2 separate regions of the Homo sapiens genome follow, and region 2 is linked to region 1. The links are contacts of gene promoters, found by promoter capture Hi-C in human tissues and cell types (Jung and others, 2019). All regions are on one chromosome and are shown on one strand. Each heading gives the region's core, a stretch centred on a gene start or on the middle of the fragment in contact. The rest is flanking DNA. Distances are from core to core; before and after follow the strand shown.

The links. Contacts are between HindIII fragments. The study calls those that stand out against the background at their distance.
Region 2: a contact is called between a fragment that was not itself captured here and the fragment with the promoter of FHOD3 in region 1, in 1 of the 25 tissues and cell types used here (dorsolateral prefrontal cortex).

Annotation. Positions count from the first base shown.
Region 1 is chr18:36,295,808-36,300,450 of GRCh38, reverse strand. FHOD3 (formin homology 2 domain containing 3) reads right to left here and starts at 2,738. Exons shown (of 29, transcript NM_001281740.3): 1 at 2,451-2,738. The coding sequence starts at 2,615. RefSeq lists silencers at 2,496-2,565, 2,686-2,975 and an enhancer at 2,915-3,892. The HindIII fragment of the contact is 5,975 bases long and covers 110-4,643 here.
Region 2 is chr18:36,643,096-36,647,738 of GRCh38, reverse strand. All of the region lies in intron 10 of FHOD3 (formin homology 2 domain containing 3), which reads right to left. Among named protein-coding and RNA genes, the nearest start is that of TPGS2, 180 kb to the left of the region's middle. The HindIII fragment of the contact is 3,860 bases long and covers 1-3,731 here.

The DNA.
Region 1 (4,643 bases), core at 1,489-3,988:
TTCTGACTATGCACTCTGTGTCAGGCCAGGAATTCTGCCTCAAGGCTTTTACTCATTTATAACATTCACCTGTCCCCAGGCCTAAAAGTGCTTGGCCCTTGAAGGTGACCGGGTGAACCCCTCCAGTTAATGGAAGAGAAGCCCGGGAGGCATGGCTTCTGTCCACAGCCATATACCTGGTTCCCAGAACAGAACAGCACCGACGCCCTGAGTCACACAGGGCTGGTTTGAATCTCAGTTCCCCACTTCTAGCACAAAAAGTGGGTCATTTAGTCACTCTCCCTCACTTTCCTCATCTCTAAAATAGGGACAATCAAAGCCCCTACCTTATGGAGCTGTGTAGTATGAAAGGAAACCATGCATTCAGAGCCTGGGTGGGGCATACACTACATGCCAAGTGCTTGAAACTCCAGCTGTTTCTATCAAGGTGGATCATCCAATTTTAAGATTCTCTGATGGAAATTAGTATCATCTTAACAATATGAATGTATACCCAGGCACATAAATGCCCTGACTTCTGCTTTACAGAACCCTCATCAATAAAGTCGGTTGCTCACTCTGCTGTAGATGGGAAAAACAATGCCAGACATCTAAATATACTGCAGGGGTCTTCGGGCAAAAGATTCTGAGACTGAGGCTGGCTGGCCCCCAAAACAAAGGTCAAGGGTCTCTGTAGAACCACTTCTGGTTCTGTTCATTCCATAAGGGACACCTTAGAAAGTTCTGCAAGCCAGTGCAACTGCTCTGCTGGGGCTTCTAGTTGGGGGTGAGGAGGGGGGCAGTGGAGGAGCATCAGGATTTTCTCCTACCAGACCAGGATCAAGACTGTGGGGCTGTTCCATGGAAACATGAAAACATACTGCAGCTCCCAGCTTGAAAGGTCAACCCATGTATATAAGGTTTGAAATCCAAGGAAACCACTTCAAGGTCACAGGGCCACAATTATGAGCCTTTGGTGGTTTCAACAAAAGATCACTGTAATCAGAGACCGTAGTGGCCTGAATAATCATGATGTAGAAGAAGCTCTTTGAAAACTTTTCACTGAATCAACTAATTGAGAAGAACCAAATAATTTACAAAAGTGATTCTGATCAGCTGAATCCAGAATACATCACTCTGGATGATGACGACCCTCTGTCTCCCAATCAAATGTGCTTTTGTGGCCAGAGAGGTTTCCACGACTGTATCCGTCCTGAACCAACCAGGAGAGAATGAGATGGAAATGCCCCATTCCTTATTCCTGAAAACGTTACTAACTAAGTAGAGGAGGAAAGCACTGATACATTAATAGAGAGGAAACTACCACTGCTAAAGTCCACCAGTTTCCTCACACAACCAACCTCCTCCTCTACTTGCAAAGCAGGTCAACATCATACAGAAATCCGAGGTTTTTTTTTAAATCAATTTTGTTCTTTTGGGCATCAACGCTTATCTCTTCCAAATATGTGTTAATGTCGACCCTCAAGAAATAAATCATCTCCAAGCTTTGATATGAATCCTAGGCAGAAAAAATACTGGGAAGGTAATTTTGCAAGCTGCATTCAATCTGTCTAAGTGAGAGTAAGGGTTTTCCTAGGTAACGAAATGATTAGCTTTCAATACCCACCTCTTTGCAACAAATGCTTTGCAAGAGGCCTATCCTCCTGCAAAAGGTTTTATTTAAATAAAAATAACAAATAAAAAAAAAAAAACCTCTCTAACGGGTAGACTGAGCAGCCATTCTTCCCAGGGGACACTCATTTCGGGCTGCCAAGCTGAGGCTTTGTGAGCGCGCCGCCCCTCCGCGCCCCCGCCCCTCCTCCCACAGCGACTGCTCCTCCGAGGTTCCCAAGGCCACCTGCTTCTCAGAAGAAAAGGGGGATACCCTGAGCGCTATCGCAGTGTGCGGCCGGCGTCCCCGGCGGCGCCCCCGGGGGAAGGAGGAGGCGGTGTCGCCGGGAAGCGTGCTTTGTCGCGAGGGTCGCGTGGCCGCCCGCAGCGGCCCCAGAGGCCTGAGGGAGGTTTTGTCCCGGCCGTCGCTCAGAGCTCTCCTCTCCAAGGGACCTGAGTCTCGCGGCGCTCCGCTTCTTCCCGCGCCCCGCTTGGTGCCCGCCCGAGTGCCGAGGCCGACTGCCCGCGTCCTAGCCCCACCCCGCCCACCCGGCCGAGCTAACGGCGCGGCTCGGGGGAGCCTTCTCCATCCCGCCTCGGACCGGCTCGGCACCTGCTCTGCCACGCCCGCCCCCGGCTCTAGCTGTTCCTTCCCGCCCGCCCCGGAGGGTCCTGCGCCAACCAGCGGGTGCCTCGAGCCCTTCTGTCTAACGGGGAGGGGGATTTGCCCTCGAGCGATGGTCCCCCCGGGCCGCGCCCAGCCCAGCCCAGGGGGCCCACGAAGCCCCGGGACCCACCCCGGCGCGCACCGCGGCAGGGGGCTGAGTCCAGGGGGCCCAGCCCACCCCGCCGGGTCGTACCTTGTGCGGCGCCTGCAGCAGCCTATGGACCCCCGCCAGCTGGGTGCCGAGCGCGAGGTCCTCGCGGAACGTGAACAGCGGCGGCCGGCTGGGCTCGGGGAAGTTGGTGCTGTTGAAAGGGTCCGTGTCGTCCAAGAACTGCACCCGGCAAGCCAGCGTGGCCATGATGCATCCCTGCCGCGGGGGCGCGGGCCCCGGGGTTAGCGGGGCCGCGGGCCGGGACGCCCGGGTAGCTGCGCGCAGGGGAGGCCGCAGCCGCAGCTCGCTGGCTCGCGGACTCGCAGGCTCAGGCGCGCCGGGCTGCAGCCCGGGCTCCGGCCGCGGGGGGCGGGGCGGGGGCGGGGCCGGCGGGCCCCCTCCTTCCCCTCTCCCTCCGGCTCCTCCCCTCCTCCGGGTCCTCTACCCCCGGCCGGGCTGCCCCGAACGACCGGACCGCAGCCGGGAAAGTGCAAAGGAGACGGCTCGCGCGGCATCCGCAGCCCTGCGCCAAAGGCCGGCGGCGGAGGCGGGGCGGGGAGGCCGGGCGGCCGGACTCTGCTGCACGTGCGCCCCGCGGCCCAGGGCCGAGCTGCACCCCTCGGAGCCTGGAGGACCGAGTTGGGGAGTTGGGGGGTTGGGGGACGGGGAGACAGGCGGCCTTCTGACTTCTTCCCCACCCGGAGAAGGCTTAAGCCTTTCCAGATGAAGGCGGCGGCGGCCGGCTTCTGCTGCCCAGATTTGGAATACCCCGGCAGGGCACCAGGTGGCCAGGGAGCCGGCTTCGGCAGCAAGAGGGGTGGTGGCAGTGACCGGGAGCCCCACCTAAGGGTACGGGGAGGTTTCCCTTAGGGACAAAGAAGCTAAGAAAGAGGAGGGTGCGCCAGGGAACCCAGGCCGCTTTTAGGGCACAAGCCTAGAGTCGAGAGGCGTGGGGGCTGCGAGGCTTCGCTGCGGGACTCCAGCGCCGGGCCTGGACCCCGGGGCTCCCGGCGGATGCTGGTTAAACCTCTGCATCACCACGGCCTCTCCCCAGTTAGGCCGCCGAAAGCCCTAATTGGACCTTGTGGGGCCGCGGGGGCTTGGGGAGGTGGGAGCCCTTCTGGCAAGGTTCCCGAATTGCAGAGAGCCGGGGATGCCCTGGTAACCGAGGGACTGGGAAGGAAGGTTTGCGTCCTGCCCGCCCCTGCCAGGCGGGAGCGGCAAGACTCGGCGCTGCCTCCCACCGCTCTCCTCGCTGCTCACGGGCGACCCCCTTCGTTTTCAAGAAAAATTCACGGTTCTCCCTATTCCCAGGCCACAGCCAAGTTCCTGGTTCCTCCCCCCTTATATAGATCGCCCTCATAACACCCAGTCTCTCTTAACATCCGAGTGTTTTCAAGGCGACTCTATAACGCGTCTATCTCCCTTTCCTCTGGTTTCAAGGGAAAAGAAACCCTTATCCCTATTTAGCAGCCTCACCCACATCTTTAACCTCTCCCTCTCCGTGATCTCCCTCCCTGCCACACATACACACTTATGCCTGATCTTAAAATAATAATTCCACGACACTTCCGCTCCTTCCAGACGAACTTCTAGCTCTACTTTCTTTGTTATTTAACTCTTTGAATGAATCCTCTAGATTAGCCGTCCCCAATCTTTTTGGCACCAGGGACCGGTTTTGTGGAAGACGATTTTTCCACGGACAGTGGTGGGGTGGGGGTGGGGGGCGTTTGGGGGAGGAAGGGCAGATGGTTTCAGAATGAAACTGTTCCACCTCAGATCATCAAGAATTAGATTCTCATACGAGCGCGCTACCTAGATCCCTCGCATGCGCAGTTCAGAATAGGGCTCTCTCTGGCATGAGAATCTAATGCCTCCGCTGATCTGACAGGAGGCGGAGCTCAGGCGGTAATGCTCGCTCACTGGCCGCTCACCTGCTGTGTGGCCCGGTTCCTAACAGGCTACGGACCAGTACCGGTCTGCGGCCGCGGGGTTAGGGACCCCTGATCTAGACTGGATCTCCACCAACTTCCGCATCTCCTCACAGCCAGAATACTAAACGCACGAATTCTTCCCCTCTGAGATGGGCCGCCTGCACTTCCACCTTCACGTCCACCTCCCTCCTCACTGAGAGAGCCCTCCAGTCCTGGCCACCTCATTTCCTATCACTTTTCCAACCCGGATCCCAGCCCATCCTCTCAGGGGCCTCCTCTCCACACCCCTCCTTCAGTCCCA
Region 2 (4,643 bases), core at 552-3,051, 350 kb before region 1:
TGCTGTATTCCAGTAGTTTACCCATTCTACTTCTGATGACCCTTGGGTACCCTTCAATTTGGGGCTATTTTGAATAGTGCTGTCATAAACAGTGTAGTACATGTCTTCTGGTGAACATATGTATATATTACTGTGTACTATATCTTGGGATGAAATTTTTGGGTCATAAGATATGCTTGGGTTCATCTTTATTAATAACTGCCATTTAAAAAAATGATGGGATGAATTACCATCCCCATAAGTAGTAGATGAGCATTCTGATTGTTTTACATTCTTGCCAAGATCTGATAATTTTGTCTATTTCATTTTAGCCATTGATCTGTGTGTAGTGATGTCTCACTGTGCTTTTAGTTTGCTTTCTCTGATGACTAATGAAGTTGGGCACACTGTCACACTTTTAATGTCCATTTGGATATGCTCTTCTTTGAAGTGTCCAAGTAGTTTTTTGCCCATTAAAAAAATGAATTTTTTTTTGTATTTGAAGAAGTGTGTTTTTGAAGACAAAGTTTTGCTCTTGTTGCCCAGGCTGGAGTGCAGTGGCACGATCTTGGCTCACTGCAACCTCTGCCTCCCGGGTCAAGCGATTCTCCTGCCTCAGCCTCCCAAGTAGCTGGGATTACAGGCACCCACCACCATGCCCAGCTAATTTTTTGTATTATTATTTAGTAGAGACGGGGTTTCATCATGTTGGCCAGGCTGGTCTCAAACTCCCGACCTCAGGTGATCCACCCGCCTTGGCCTCCCAAAGTGCTGGAATTACAGGCATGAGCCACCGCACCCGGCCGAAGAAGTGTTTTTAATATCATTTGCCCTTTGTCATTTATATGTTCTGTAAACATCTTTCCCTTCTCTATTGTCTTTCATTCACTTCATGTCATCTTTTAATAAGCAGAAGTTCTTAATAATGTCCTGTTTACCTTTGATGGCTAATGCCTTTGTGTGTTAATTTTTGTTGTTGTTGTTTACACCAGGTCTTAAAGATAGTCTCTGTGTCCTTCTAAAAGCTTCATTTCACTAACTTTCAGATTTACATTTGTAGAGTCCATCTCTAATTGATTTTTGTTATCATGTAAGATAGGGGTCAGATACATTTTTTTCCCTACATCGATACGCAATTGGCCCAGAACCATTTAGTAAAGGGCCTTCTCTCCACTTCAGTATCTTGTTCACAAATCAGGTTAATATACATTAAGATATATATTTGTAGATTTCTGGACTTTTTCTCACAAGTCAACTTGTTTTTTGCTGTACTATTGATAGGGATTATGTTGAATTTATATGCAAATTTGAAGAACTGACATCTTTGCTATGTTTTTTAATCTATGGTTGTGATATATATAGCCTTTATTTAGACCTAATCTTACTGCTATCTTAATTTCTCTTAATAGTGTTTAAATTTTCACAGAGGTCTTAGATATCTTTATTTTTAGGTATAAATTTGGATGCTACTGTACATATTATTGAACTCAATTTTATTTTCTATTTGTTGATAGTATATAGAAATAAACTTTTTGTAAATTTTGCTTGTATCCAGCAATTTTTCTAAATTTATTATACTGTTTCTAGAGCTTCTTTTAGACTTCCTCTGTAGACAATCGTTTCATCACTAAATAATGATGGCTTTACCTACTTCTTTCCAATTCATCTGCCTTTCCTTTTCCTTGCCCTAGTCCACTTGCTAGGACCTCCAACATTATGAAGAAATGGAGACAGTGATGCTTCCTTTTCTTGTTCCAAATCTCAGGGAAAAGTATAAGGTTTGTCATAGATTTTTTTGGTAGATAGCCTTCATTAAAAAATTTCCTTCTAATCCTAGTTTGCTAAAAATCTTTATTATAAACAAGTATTAAAGTTCTGTCAAATGCCTTTCCTGCATTTAAGATAATCATATGATTTTTCCTTTTTTCTGTTAAAGAGCTATGAAGACTGCTTTTTTAAAAAAAATGTTAAGCCAACCTTGCATACCATGAATAAACTTAATAAAGATAATACATTTTGTTGTAATGTATTATCTTTTTATATACAGCTAGATTCTATTTCTTAATTTATTAAGAATTTTTTACCTATTTTGGAAAGAGATTGATCTGTAATTCCCCTTTCTATAATGTGCTTGTCAGATTTTGAAATCAAGGTTATACTGGCCTTATAAAGAGGTAGGTAGAGGGATTGAGAATTATGTAACTAAGAAGGGAGAGATGGATCTGGACTCGGGGTGCCTCTAGCAGAAACAAGGAGAGCAGTGAGATAGCATCCCTCCTGTCATGGCAGAAGCCACAAACAAGCACATCTAAGCCATCCTTCCTTTTTTTTTGAGACAGAGTCTCACTCTGTCACCCAGGCTGAGGTGCAGTGGCACAATCTCACCATCTTGGTTCACTGCAGCCTCTGATTCCTGAGTTCAAGTGATTCTCGTGCCTCAGCCTTCCGAATAGCTGGGACTACAGGCATATGCCACCATGGATGAATATTTTTGTATTTTTAGTAGAGATGAGTTTTTACCATGTTTGCCAGGCTGGTCTTGAACTCCTAACCTCAAGTGATCCACCCACCTCAGCCTCCCAAAGCCACCATGCCCGGACTCAGCCATCCTTCTGAGCTTGGCATAGTATACCCTCATACACACCACCCCCTACCAGCCTCAGTCTTCTTTTCCTCCATGTGCTCCCACAGCTGCCAAACTATACCTACAAGCTCCATCATGAGGCCACCTTCCCTCAGCTTGATCAGGAGTTTGCAGGTGTTATTACTTCTGGTCCACACAAAATGCCCTCCACCTTGCCAACCGATGGGCCTCTCCTCTTTAAAACAAAACACTGAGCCCCTCCCTCCAAAATTCCTTGATTCCATTTACTCTCCCAGGTAGAGCTGGAGAGGTTCTGGAGCCAGACTGCCTGGGTCTGGTCTTCAGAGTCACCACTTTTGAGCCCTGTGACCTTGGACCCCACTTTACTCATCCCTACATGGGGCACTAACAGTACCTATCCCCTAGGAGGAATGCATTAATATGTAAAAGCACTTTGTCTTTTTGATCCAACTCTTTTCCAAATGGCTGTCTCACAGATATTTAAAGACAGCTATCTGAACCTACATCCCAAGCTGTCTTCTCTTTGGGCTCAACATCCTCAGATCCCACAATAAATCTTCATATGATGTATGTGTTGTAGCTTTGCTATCATAAGTGGCAGGGCAGAACCAAGGGCAGACAGCACAATGACCCACTTGGAGGGCCTACGTCCAGGATGCCCTATGACCAGATCACTGGCCTTGCCTATAATGCAAAGGGGTGGAGAAGGAAATATCCTCTCCTAGGGCACAGGACTTTCGAGGCTTGATTTTATTTAGTTCCAGTCTATGATAAAATCAGTCAAATGAAATGATTTTTATGCTAATAATATTTAAGACTGAATAATTAATTCTGACAACTTTGCTTTTTCTCAAACTAGATTTTCTTATAAAGCGTAACTTAATTGTGTTTATATTGTGCTAAGGAATTCTGGGTGTTTGGCCTTTGGCTTTCCAATACCTCCACAGGTCTTTTGCTTGTGATTGATAAGGAGTTACTCCAGGGCCCAGGCCTGTTCCAAATCCATTAGGTATCTTCCTTTTCACCGCAAACAGTCCCAGATTTGAGGTCACCGTTTTCAAGTTGGAAAAGCAACCCAGAGGCCTGCAGCCTGACCAGTTCTTTGGGGCGTAGTTTCCAACAAAGCCAATGTAATGCCTCGGATTTGGGTCTCAGGCTAATGGGTCATGTTTCTCGGGCTTCCAAACACCAAAAGGAAAATGAATGTTGCTGAGCTCTTTCAGAAACACGATACAAACATTCAAAATAATGTTAAAGTATGTTCTAAGACCAAAGCAATCAGAATGAGAAAAAGTTGAGCAATACACTGGGAGCAGACATTTGCAATATATCTAACAGACAAACTCAAATCAAGAATATATGAAAATATATTTTAAACTTCAAAAACACAACTATAAAATGAACAAAATACATGAACACAGCCAACAAACTGGTATGAAGAGATATTTTATTCTGATTATCAATCAGGGCACTATGAATTAAGGCCACAGTGAGATACCATTTTCTATCTACTTGGTAAAATTAGAAGTCTAATGATACCAAGTGATGAAAAGAATGCAAGTCAACTAATTCATATATTGTTGATACGAGGATATATAGGTTTAACTGGCAAAATAATTAACACTATCTTGTAAAATTAAACATTAATATCATGACCTAAAAGTTGTATTGCTATACCCTAGGGCAGCGATTCTGCACCAGGGTTATTCTGCCCCCAACCCCAGGGGACATTTGTCAGCATCTGGAGACATTTTTAGTTGTCACAACAGGGGTGGAGGGCAGGGAATGCTATTGGCATCTAGTGGGCTGACACAAGCATGCTGTAAAACATCCCACAATGCACAGAATAGCCCCCACGACAAAGAATTATTCAGTTCAAAACGTCAACAGTGCTGAGGTTGAGAAACCTTCCCTAGGGATACTGAAGCACCAGTGTACTAGGATGAGAGTCCAATAATGTTCTCAGCAGCACTATCTGTAATTGTCAAAAGCTGGAAATGACCCAAATGCCCTCTGAAGGGAAAAAATAGATAAAGATTGTGGTAAATTCCAGGCAGTG